2 separate regions of the Homo sapiens genome follow, and region 2 is linked to region 1. Evidence: promoter capture Hi-C in human tissues and cell types (Jung and others, 2019). All regions are on one chromosome and are shown on one strand. The core of a region is centred on a gene start or on the middle of the fragment in contact, and the rest is flanking DNA. Distances in the headings are between cores, read along the strand shown. Region 1 holds the start of NWD1 (NACHT and WD repeat domain containing 1). Region 2 overlaps MED26 (mediator complex subunit 26).

Region 1 (6,262 bases), core at 3,682-6,181:
CCACTCATGCTCAGCCAGGACTCCTTAGTCAGTTTAATTGGGTTTGTTAACATCTTCCAGCTTAGATTCCTCTTCTGCAAAGTGGGTATTATAATGTTAGCCACGCAGGGATGACGAAGGAAGTGCAGTTGACCCTTGAACAACACGAGTTTGAACTGTACGGATGTACTCAGGCGTGGATTTTTTTCCACCCCTGCCACCCCTGAGACAGCAAGACCAAGCCCTCCTTCTGTTCTTCCTCCTTCTCCTTCTCCTTAGCCTGCTCAAGGTGAAGACGACAAGGATGAACACTTTTGTGATGATCCACTTCCACTTCATCCATAGTAAATATGTTTTCTCTTCCTTTGAAGTTTGGACGGGCACAGTGGCTCACTCCTGTAATCCCAGCACTTTAGAGGCCAAGACGGGTGGATCACCTGAGGCCAGGAGTTCAAGACCAGCCTAGCCAACATGGCAAAACCCTGCCTCTACTAAAAATACAAAAATTAGCCAGGCGTGGTGGTGGGCGCCTGTAATCCCAGCTACTCAGAGGCTGAGGCAGGAGAATCGCTTGAACCCAGGAGGCAGAGGTTGCAGTGAGTTGAGGTCATGCCACTGCACTCCAGCCTGGGCAACAGAGTGAGACTCCATCTCAAATAATGAAACAAACAAACAAAAAACAAAACAAAAACAAAACACCAGAATTTTTTTAGTGACATTTGCTTTTCTCTAGCTTACTTATTGCAAGAATACAGTATATAATACATAGAATGTAGAAAATCAGTGTTCATCGACCATTTATGTCATCAATAAGGCTTTTGGTCAATAGTAGGTGTTACATGCAGTCAAAAGTTACATGCAGATTTTTGACTGTAGGGGTGAGCTTGGCACTCCTAACCCCTGTGTTGGTTCTAAGGTTGACTACACAGAAATCCCCTAGCCCTGGGCTCGTGGTTACTCAATGCATAAGGATAATCACGATTTTTTTTTTTTTTTTTAAAACAGGGTCTTGCTCTGTCACCCAGGCTGGAGTGCAGTGGTGCAGTCATAGCTCACTGCAGCCTCAACCTCTTGGGCTCAAGTGATCCTCCCACCTCAGCCTGCCCAGTAGCTGGGACTACAGGCATGCACCACCAAGTCTGGTGAATTTTTATTTTTTGTAGATATGGGATCTCACTATATTGTCCAGGCTGGTCTCGAACTCCTGGGCTCAAGCAATCCACCTGCCTCAGCCTCCCAAAATGCTGGGATTACAGGCGTCAGCCAACATTCCCAGCCACTATTTTTTTTTTTTTTTGAGACAGTCTTGCTCTGTCCCCCAGGCTGGAGTGCAGTGGTGTGATCTCAGCTCACTGCAACTTCCGCCTCCTGGGTTCGAGCAATTCTCCTGCTTCTGCCTCCCAAGTAGCTGGGATTACAGGCATGCACCACCACGCCTGGCTAATTTTTTTTTTTTTTTGTATTTTTAGTAGAGATGGGATTTCACCATGTTGGCCAGGCTGGTCTCAAACTCTGGGCCTCAAGTGATCATCCCGCCTGGGCCTCCCAAAGTGCTGGGAGTGTGCCCGGCCCCAGCCACTATTTTTTAAGAGTACAAAATTGAAGCATATTCTGATAGGGAATTTAAAACACTCACTAAAGTAGGCAGAATAGTATAATGAACCGCAGCCCACCCTAACCACCATCACCCCCTACTCAACCTCGCCAACCCCGCCCCCATCCCATTTGCCTTCCTGTCAGGTATTATTTTGAAGCAAATCTCAGCTATCTTATCATTCCATAAATATTTTGTTATATGTCTCTAAAACATACACACTCTTTTTTTTTTTTTTTTGAGACAGGGTCTCACTCTGTTGCCCAAGCTGGAGCACAGTGGCGTGATCACGACTCATTGCAGCCTCAACTTCCCAGGTTCAAGTGATCCTTCCACCTCAGAGTAGCAGGGACCACTGGCACATGCACCATGTCTAGTTAATTTTTTAATTTTTTGTAAAAATGGAGTCTCAATATGTTGGCCAGTCTGGTCTTGAACTCCTGAGCTTAAGTGATCCTCCTGCCTTGGCCTCCCAAACTGCTGGGATAACAGGCATGAGGCACTGCACCTGGCCCAGACTCTTTAAAAGCCTAACCAGTCTGGGCATGGTGGCTCATGCCTGTAATCCCAGCACTTTGGGAGGCCGAGGCGGGTGCATCACCTGAGGTCAGGAGTTCCAGACCAGCCTGGACAACATGGTGAAACCCCGTCTCTACTAAAAATACAAAATATTAGCCAGGTGTGGTGGCAGGTGCCTCTAATCCCAGCTACTCGGGAGGGTGAGACAGGAGAATTGCTTGAACGTGGGAGGCGGAGGTTGCAGTAAGCCAAGATCATGCCATTGCACTCCAGCCTGGATGACAAGAGCAAAACTGTCTCGAAAACAAAAACAAAAATAAAAACAAAAACCTCACCGCAATACCATTGTCACACTGCAAAAACTTTGCCAATAATTTTTTAATATCTGTAGATTCCAGTTTAGCCAATAACTGTGGAGTTTTGGAATCATATCCGAATTTGGCTGTTAGCTCACTTCCTTGCCAAGGAAACTTGGGAAATTGTTTAACTTCTTTGAAGCCTATTTTCTTTCTTCTTCTTTTTTTTTTTAAACGCAGTCTCACTTTGTCACCCAGGCTGGAGTGCAATGGCGTGATCTCGGCTCACTGCAACCTCCGCCTTCCGGGTTCATGCGATTCTCCTGCCTCAGCCTCTCGAGTAGCTGGGATTACAGGTGCTCACCACCACGCCCAGCTAATTTTTGTATTTTTAGTAGAGACAGGGTTTCATCACGTTGGTCTGGAAGCCTGTTTTCATCATCAATGAACTGGGATAGTAAATTGAAGCCCCCAGATTGCTTGGAGTATTGGAGACAGTATGTTTCCTAAAATTTCAGCCCCTAAAACTTCTTTTCTTTTCTTTTTCTTTTTTTGTTTTAAAGAGACAGGGTTTTGCTCTGTTGCCCAGGCTAGAGTGCAGTGAGGCAATCATATCTCACTGCAGCCTTGACTTTCTGGGCTCAAGTAATCCTCCCACCTCAACCTCCCGAGTAGTTGGGACTACAGGCACACACCACCACGCCCAGCTAATTTTTTGTTATTGTTGTTGTTGTAGAGATGAGGGTCTCACTATGTTGCCCAGGCTGGTCTTGAACTCCTGGCCTTGAGTGATCCTCCCACCTTGGCTTCCCCAGTAGCTGGGACTACAGGAGCATGCCACTGTGCCTGGCAGCACCTGAAACTTCTTTTTTTTTTTTTTTTGTGAGATGGAGTGTAGTGTGGCTCTGTCGTCCAGGCTGGAGTGCAATGGCGTAATCTCTGCTCACTGCAACCTCTGCCTCCCAGGTTTAAGTGATCCTCCTGCCTCAGCCTCCCAAGTAGCTGGGATTACAGGCACCTGCCACCATGCCTGGCTAATTTTTGTTTTTAGTAGAGATGGGGTCTCACCATATTGGCCAAGCTGGTCTCAAATTCCTGACCTCAGGTGATTTGCCCACCTCGGCCTCCCAAAGTGCTGGGATTACAGGCATGAGCCACCGCGCCTGACCAAGTATCTGAAACTTCTATCCCTGAAAATATAGTAACACTATTATTATTACTTTTTCTTTGAGATGGAGGCTTGCTCTGTCGCCCAGGCTGGAGTGCAGTGGCGCAATCTCGGCTCACTGCAAGCTCCACCTCCCAGGTTCATGCCATTCTCCTGCCTCAGCTTCCTGAGTAGCTGGGACTACAGGTGCAAACCACCACGCCCAGCTAATTTTTTGTTTTTTGTTTTTTGTTTTTTATGTAGAGACAGGGTTTCACCATGTTAGCCAGGATGGTCTTGATCTCCTGACCTCGTGATCTGCCTGCCTTGGCCTCCCAAAGTGCTGGGATTACTGGCGTGAGCCACCATGCCTGGGTGACTTGTGAGTTTTTGAGACAAAGTCTCGCTCTGTCACCCAGGCTGGAGTGCAGTGGTGCGATCTCGGCTCACTGCAAGCTCCACCTCCCGGGTTCATGCCATTCTCCTGCCTCAGCTTCCTGAGTAGCTGGGACTACAGGTGCAAACCACCACGCCCAGCTAATTTTTTGTTTTGTTTTGTTTTGTTTTTTTTGTAGAGACGGGGTTTCACCGTGTTAGCCAGGATGGTCTTGATCTCCTGACCTCGTGATCTGCCTGCCTTGGCCTCCCAAAGTGCTGGGATTACTAGCGTGAGCCACCATGCCCGGGTGATTTGTGAGTTTTTGAGACAAAGTCTTGCTCTGTCGCCCAGGCTGCAGTGCAGTGGCAGGATCTCGGCTCATTGCAACCTCCAACTCCCAGGTTCAAACAATTCTTGTGCCTCAGCCTCCCAAGTAGCTGGGATTACAGGCATGCGTCACCACGCCCAGCTAATTTTTCTATTTTTAGTAGAGATAGGGGTCTCACCATATTGGCCAGTCTGGTCTTGAATGCCTGACCTCAGGTGATCCGCCTGCCTCGGCCTCCCAAAGTGCTGGGATTACAGGCATGAGCCACCGTGCCCGGTCTTGGAGTTTTAATGGTAATTAATCATGGCTAACATCTCACGGGCCCTTCCTGTGATGTAGGTGTAGTGTTAGTCTCACTCTCTATATAAATGCTTTTCATTGTCTCACCAACACAGGAAGTTAGTGAGAAAATTCAAGTGCAGAGTAGTGAAGCGTCACAGGCAAGGGACTTCACCTTTCTGCATCTTGTTTTCTTCATCTGTGAAACAGGATCATAATGTCTGTCTCTTGGGGTAATAATGTGGACTGCTAATGCCAAATGCCAACCAACTGCACCTCCTAGACTGTCAGCAAATGGCATCTTTTACGAGGAGCCGTATCAGCCTGGCACACAATAGTTAACCACTAAGTCTGGGCTGAATGCCCGGCTAAGCTGGTGCCCTAGTGCAAACAATCGCTTTCATTATCCCAGTTGCTGGGAGAATTGGGCAAGGAGAGACCCATAAAATACCTAAGACGAAAGTTACTAGGATAGCCAGGGGCTTGTCTTCCGGGTGGCGCCGAGGCCAGGAAACTGTCCTCTCTAACCTATTTCCCCAGAGGAGTCTAAATTGGTCGTTCAACTACCAGCAAAGGCTAAAGAGAGGCTGGAGCCCCCAGGACAGCCAGAACGCTGACACTGCAAAGGGCCTCTGTCCTTACTGGGGAAGCCCAGTCCTGCTCAGCTGTCTTCTTCAGCAACAAACAGAAGTCCAGAAAGAGAAACAGTTGTGGAGGAAGCTGTTGTGATGATAATTTACTGAGCACCTACTATGTGCCAGGCACGCCAGCCTTACCAGACAAGATCCTTGGGCTCATGGAATTCACTTTCTCGTGGGACAGACAAACAATAACATGTAGAAACATATCAGCTGTTGGTGAGTACCATGCAGAAAATTAAAATAAGGCGATGGCATTGGGAGTGACTTAAGGGGTCACTACGCAATGGGATGGTCAGAGACAGCCTCTCAGGAGGAGGTAGCATTGAAGCTAAAATGTGAACAACATGAACAGATGCAGCATAGAGCACTAAAGTACAGGACGTGCAAAGGCCCTGAGGTTGAAATAAGCTAAATGCATTAGACTAGGGGGTTCTCGAGTAAGGGGAATTCTGCCCCCTAGGGGACATTGCAATGTCTAGGGAGACTTTTTTTTTTTTGAGACGGAGTCTCGCTCTGTCACTAGGCTGGAGTGCAGTGGCGTGATCTCAGTTACTGCAAGCTCTGCCTCCCAGGTTCACACCATTCTCCTGCCTCAGCCTCCTGAGTAGCTGGGACTACAGGTGTCCGCCACATGCCCGGCTAATTTTTTGTATTTTTAGTAGAGACGGGGTTTCACCGTGTTAGCCAGGATGGTCTCGATCTCCTGACCTCATGATCTGCCCTCCTCGGCTTCCCAAAGTGCTGGGATTACAGGCGTGAGCCACCGCACCTGGCCGAGACTTTTTCTTTTTGAGATGGAGCCTTGCTCTGTTGCCCAGGCTGGAGCGCAGTGGCACGATCTCGGCTCACTGCAACCTCTGCTTCCCGGGTTCAAGCGATTCTCCTGCCTCAGGCTTCCGAGTAGCTGGGATTACAGGTACATGCCACCGCGCCAGCTAATTTTTGTATTTTTAGTAGAGATGGGGTTTCGCCATGTTGGCCAGGCTGGTCTCGAACTCCTGGCCTCAAGTAATCTGCCTGTTTTGGCCTCTCAAAGTGCTGGGATTAGAGGTGTGAGCCACTGCACCCAGCCTAGGGATACTTTTTAATTGTGACGACTT
Region 2 (6,262 bases), core at 2,609-5,108, 140 kb before region 1:
CTGGGCACGGAGCCCTTGGGTGCATACAAGCTCTGCTGCCGGGCAAAGGAGCCCTCATGCCGTGAGTTCCGAGGACTGAAAGAGCAGCGAGGGGGTCCCTTGGGATGGGGAGGCCCCGGAGTCTCGTCCACCCTGTCCAGCTGCTGCAGCACCGAAGCCTTTGGCTGCAAGCAGGGTCCAGGGGGCTTGCCCAGGCCCGGGGAGCTGGTGTGCGGTCGCACGGCGTTGACGGGGATCTTGCCACTGTGCTTGTCATTCTCGTCACGCTCCAGGCGGCTGCCCTCTGGGCCTGCATGCCCACTGCCATCCAGGGAGCTGGCGAAGCTCTCTGGACTCCCACTGATCCCGTTGGTGGGGAGGGGGGATGAGTTGGGGACCAGGGGGTCGTGGCTAGCTTTGGAGACCTTGGGTGGCGGCCCTGGGTGGCCGAGGTCACGCTGGTCACCCCGGCGCTTGCGGCTGCCCAGCCTGTCCAGCCGCTGCCCGGGCAGCCTCTGGAGGTCATTGCGGCTCTTCAGGTCATGGATGCTCCTGGGTGGGCCAGCCGCCCCCACCTCCGGCCGGCAGTTGTGTGCGCCCCCGTTGGCAGAGCCGGTGGCCCCCGCCAGCCCCCGCAGCGCCGCCTCATGCTGGTGTGCCGGCTCGATGAGCTTCTGCCAGCTCCGCAGCAGCTTCTTGGCCCGCTTGGCGAGCTCCTCGTTCTTGGTTTTCTTGCGGACGTCGTTGATGAGCTTCCCAAGTCGTGTTTCCTACAACCAGAGGGAGATGATGACATACTTTCGGGACAGGAACTTCTCCATGAGCTGAGCCAGAAATGGTGGGAAGTGGCCCTGACAGTGAAATGACCCGGTTCCCACTGAGCCCTAAACTGCCAGCTTCCCTGACACAAAACTTCTGGGGATTTCCGGTCCTTTGTGACAATATAAATTCTCAAACCTAGTTCCCAGACCTTCAGGGTCCCAGGTGGCTTCTCAGCAGTGCTGTCACCCAGGCTCCTGGTGTCAGGGGGCTGTGGACCATCAAGGCCACTGTAAGGACACTGCCAGAGAGGCTTCCTGGGTGAGAGGGTGCTGTGGCCGAGGCGACAGCACAGAGGGTCCGCTTCAAGTGGAGGGTTGGGGATGGTGCCTCTCACTGGAGCCTCCTCCAAGCACACCTCTCCTGATGTCCCCACGTGCCCACGAAGTGTGCTGGGCATGTAGGATGGGAGTAACACCACTTGGTCTCTGCAGTGCCCGTGGGAGAGCAAGATCGCGAGGCACGAGCTGTGAGGGCACACCGCCTCTCTTGGTCCTCCGAAGCAAAGACACTGATGCTCCCAGAAGCTGCGGAAGGACCTGGTTGGTACCATCCCCTGCCCCCCGTTCTGCCCTCCCAAATGCTGGGGTCTGGGATACTCACCTCAAGTGCCTCTTTGGTAATAGGGTATTTCTCCAGGCTGGAGATGACTTCCAGCACCGCCACCATGTTCCGGATCTGTGGAAATAAAAAGCCATTTGTCAGGTCCCTGTCCTTCTCCACTGGGAGGCTGGAACACCCTGCCCCAGCCTGCTCCAGTCTCTCCCCAACCCCAGAGCAAGAGGAGCCAGCAGCACTGAAGCCCCCACTCCATGTCGTCTCCTACCTGCTCCCTGGGCCAACCTGGCACCCAGTGCTCATCCTCACCTGCCGTCTGACCTCCTCCAGTGTGTGGTGTGCGGGCTGCCCCAAGCCCTCCAGTGTACATGGTACATACCCACCCACCTGCTGAAACCCAGGATGCCTGTGGAACAAGAGCTGCTCCTGATACTTAAGATGACCTCTACTCTGCCATCTGATGGGAGTGGGAGAGGAGACACGGAAGAATTCATCGAATAAAATCCACAAAGCTTAAAAGATCAATACACAGGCCAGGCGCGGTGGCTGACACCTGTAATCCCAGCACTTTGGGAGGCTGACGAAGGCGGATCAGAAGGTCAGGAGTTTGAGACCAGCCTGGCCAACACAGTGAAACCCCATCTCTATTAAAAATACAAAAATTAGTTGGGTGTGCTGGCATGCGCCTGTAGTTCCAGCTACTTGGGAGGCTGAGGCACGAGAACCACTTGAACCCGGGAGGCGGAGGGTGTAGTGAGCTGAGACCACACCACTGCACTCCAGCCTGGGTGACAGAGCAAGACTCCGTGTAAAAAATAATAATAATAATAATAATGATAAACCAGTCAATCTGAATCCAAAGACACCATAAAGAGAGCAGAAAGTCACAAAGTGGGAGAAGGCATAGGCCACAGGCCCCCAAGGAGCTGTATCTGGAACACAGAATGCCTGTACAGCAGTACAGCTGACCAGGAGCCCGGCGTAGACTGGCCACAAGACAGGAACAGGCACACGGCAATGAAATGTCAGTGCTGATGCTCAGCCTCTCAGCTTTATCGATAATCAGGAAAACTCAAACTGAACCCACAAATGGATACATGATACACGTGCCCCACTGACAACACTAGGTACTTCGGGGGATACAGCTGACTTTGGGGACTGCTGGGCTTTGTCTGGCAGAGTGAAGCATGAACACATCCCATGACCAAGTAATCCCTCCCTTTTAGGATCTTGCTAGGAGCCACACCTTGTTCTAAGCACTTCCCACACATTACTGACTCCCTTAATTGTTACAACAAGAATTCCTACCACTCAACCACCACCTCCAGCAACTACAGGTTTCTGGTGGGCTGGCTAGCGGGTGGGAGCCCAGGGGCCCTGAGGAAACCACAGTGAGTAGATTACTCAACTCCCCCCCACCCCAACATGATAAAGGAGTTAAGCGGGCACATGATACAAATTAAAACAGCATAAAAGGGCACACAAGGAAATGGGCATCTCTGACCCAGCCACTGTAGCATTTCCTTGCATTTTTTTCCAAAAATATCCCTTGTGTATATAGGCGTATACATCCACACTTATCACATATTTCAAAACCAAACTGACAGTGGTTCTTGCCTTTTCTGACTTAATGTCAGCAATGTCCAGCCTCAAACAGAGCCCCTCATTTGGCTCACCATCCCTTCCAGAGTGGGGAAGGCCCGACTTGAATGCTGTGGGACACTTAGGCACTTTCCGTCCGCCATTACAAAATAAGGCTGCAACCGACGGCAGTGACAGACCTGACTCTGAGCTAGTGCACAGACAGCCATGGAGGAGCTGGGGCTCCACATCCATGCAGGGTGGTCACCTCACCCCCAGGGAGGCTGCTCTATTCCATTCCCACCAGGCCACATCCTTGCCAAGACTGCGTGGCAAGAGTTTCCGTAACACATGATTGTAAACTTAGCATCTTACACAGCACACATTTATCATCTTAGGCTCTAGGGCTCAGAAATCAGGTCTGAGTCTCACTGGGCTGGGATCCTCTCTAGAGGATCCATTTCCTGCTCCTTCAGGTGTTAGCAGAGTTCAGCTCTTATTTTGTTTTTTTTTTTGAGATGAAGTTTCACTCTTGTCGCCCAGGCTGGAGTGCAATGGCACGATCTCGGCTCACTGCAACCTCCGTCTCCTGGGTTCAAGCAATTCTCCTGCCTCAGCCTCCCGAGTAGCTGAGATTATAGGCACCCGCCACCACGCCCAGCTAATTTTTGTATTTTTTTTTAGTAGGGACAGGGTTTCACCATGTTGAAGGCTGGTCTTGAACTCCTGACCTCAGGTGATCTGCCCTCCTCGGCCTCCCAAAGTGCTGGGATTACAAGCGTGAGCCACTGCACCCGGCCCAGAGTTCAGCTCTTTACACTACAGGAATGAGGCCCATTTTCTTGCTGGTTGTCATCCGAAGCCATTCCCAGCTTCTGGAGGGCACTGCATCCAGCTCACACCCCCTCCCCTTATGCTCAAAGCCAGCTACAGGCTGAGTCCTCACCCGGCATCTCTCTGACCCAGCCAGGATAGGTGCCATCTCTAAGGACTCCCTGACTAGGCAGGGCCTGCCCAGATGATCTCGGATCACCTCCCCATCTCCAGGCTGTTCCCTTAGTCACATCTGTCATGTACGGTACCATGTGCCCAGGCTCCAGGACTAGAATGTGGACGTCCTTGAGGGCTGTTAATTCTGCTGGCCTCATGGATTCTGGCTTTTCTACTCTTCTGCCCCACTTCCAGTGGGAGGCAGCCACTGCCACTCCCTCCCTTCCCGTGTTGTCTCCTCTGGGTGTAAAGTTGCAGAGCCACGACAGCAGTCCCCGCAGAACTCCCACAAAGCTGCCCTGCCAATGGGCCCATTTGCTCTTTGGCAACAACGGCCTTGCCTTGCAATGTTCTCCATTCAGGGCTCCAAATGACCCTGAAAACCCTGCTTCAAGCTGTGTCATGGTGGGGGTGGACGGGTGATATGAGGGGAGATACAGTCCTGTCCGCACTCCTCGTGCAATGGGCAGGGATCAGTGCAGGGGAAGACTGTGCGATGAGGAGGCCAGTCCCAGACAGACAGCAAGGCCAACCACTCCCTGCCCCAGGCACTCCAGCACCGACTCAGTCCCTGGGCTTGCCACATGGCTTCACCTCCACCCTGCTGACCTCACCCTGGTATATTTGGAGCCCTGGTTCCCCACATACTCCTGAAGCAGCAGTCCTTGCAGAGCAGAACACTGCCCAGACCCAGCTAGCCTGGTGGCACAAAGTGTCCTTGTCCTTGGGCAGACACCATCCTGCTGCCAGACAAGAGGGAGGAGACAGAACACCTGGGCAACCCCAGGGTCTGGTACTGAGCTGGTGCCCCAGAAATCACCGCTGAACTAACAGCCAGTCCCAAGAGTCTCCTGGAAACTGTGTGGGAGCTGGGGACACCAGGCGAAGGTGTGAGGGCCCTGTGACTGTGTATCCTTACCCTTGGCCCCTCCCCTGCCTTATGAGCCACGCTTAAGCGTGTGCAGAGAGGCCTTCAGCCTCTAGGAGCCCCAAGGGAAATGCTACAGCCTTGGCAGTCCCCTTTCTGTCCCCACCGTGTGAGCTGCTCACCTGAGGAGTAGAGGAGCCCGCCTGCTCTACCTGTAAGGTGCTAGAAACCCACAGTCCTACGCCGTAAACAGATGAACTCTGCCAACACCTGAAGGGGCAGAAAATGGATCCTCCAGAGAGGAGCGCAGCTCGCTGCTTCCTGGATCCCAGCCCGGTGAGACTGGAGCTGACTTCTGAGCCCTAGAGCCTGAGATGATAAATGTGTGTTGTGTAAGACACAGAGAGAGGGTGAGTGTCCAGTGCGGCCACTCCCTGGAGCCAGCAGAAGGCAGTCAGTGATGTCAGCAGAGCTAAGGATGGGGGCAAGGTGAGACTGCCCTGCCCTGCGACCTCTGGGGCATTGATGTCAAGCAGTCTGAACACTGTGTGGGGAGCACCACCTGGGCATCCAGACACAGGCCTCCCAGGCCCAGGAGGCAGACACTGAGCAATGCAGCGAGGAATCCCTGCAAAGGGCCTGGCCCCGACCCCAGGCACACTGAGCCAGAAGGCTCCACAGAGCCTCTTTATAGATGGCCACAGTCTGTCCCAAAGAACACTTAGCACCCAATTGGTGCTGGTCCCATAGGAGCAAAATAGGAGCTGGCTTCTGACCCTGGCCCTGGGGACCCTGCCTTAACAACCAACTGACCCCCCACCCAGGAGTGGCAGGTCTCCCACTCTCATGGAGGTGGCCCTCTGTGAGTGACAGAGACACCAGGACTCGTATGTGGCTGAGGGGAGGCTCCCGCTCTGACTCCAGGCCTGCTAAGTCCAGCATGAACCCTCAGGGCAGGGAGGCAGGCCACAGGGGGAGGGCAGCACCTAAGGTGGCCTCCCAGGGAGGTCAAAAAAGGATGTGGCAGAACGAGCTGTGTCCACCTGGGCTGGAGACCGACTTCCATGCTGGAAAGCAGAAAAGAGCTGGAGAAGGATGGGCAGGGAGCTGGCCAGACAGCACCAAAGCCCTGCGGCAGGGGAGAGGCCATGGGTAAGGACACCGGGAGGAAAAACAGACCCAAAAGACCCAAGGTGGCTCCTTCACAACCTGTCTTCTATCCCCCTTAGCGACTGCCCCCACAGACCACCTGCCCTTGCCCTGTTTCTGGGATGCCCTTGGCACCTGTCCATCTATCTGGGGAAGTACACTAGATCCTAATCTCAGCACAGACACAGTTTGACTCCACATGGGGAGCCGCTCCAGGCGATGGCCTCAAAAGATGGCTTTAAGGCAGCTCTTCAGGCTTGCCAGGGCCATGTCTGTGGCCCGATGGCCAATTGCAGCCTCTTGCTGTCAGGAATAGCC

Evidence for each region. The method cuts DNA at HindIII sites, captures the fragments that hold promoters and counts their contacts. A contact is called where the count stands out against the background at its distance.
Region 2: a contact is called between a fragment that was not itself captured here and the fragment with the promoter of NWD1 in region 1, in 1 of the 25 tissues and cell types used here (adrenal gland).

The regions. Positions count from the first base shown.
Region 1 is chr19:16,714,916-16,721,177 of GRCh38, forward strand. NWD1 (NACHT and WD repeat domain containing 1) reads left to right here and starts at 4,932. Exons shown (of 19, transcript NM_001007525.5): 1 at 4,932-5,378. The HindIII fragment of the contact is 25,691 bases long and covers 1-6,262 here.
Region 2 is chr19:16,576,934-16,583,195 of GRCh38, forward strand. It overlaps MED26 (mediator complex subunit 26), which reads right to left. Exons shown (of 3, transcript NM_004831.5): 2 at 1,402-1,476; 3 at 1-749. It overlaps LOC105372295 (a long non-coding RNA gene), which reads left to right. Exons shown (of 3, transcript XR_936360.3): 2 at 1,233-1,340; 3 at 1,425-1,881. Among named protein-coding and RNA genes, the nearest start is that of SLC35E1, 7.6 kb to the left of the region's middle. RefSeq lists a silencer at 4,830-4,879 and enhancers at 5,057-5,628, 5,629-6,200. The HindIII fragment of the contact is 7,303 bases long and covers 208-6,262 here.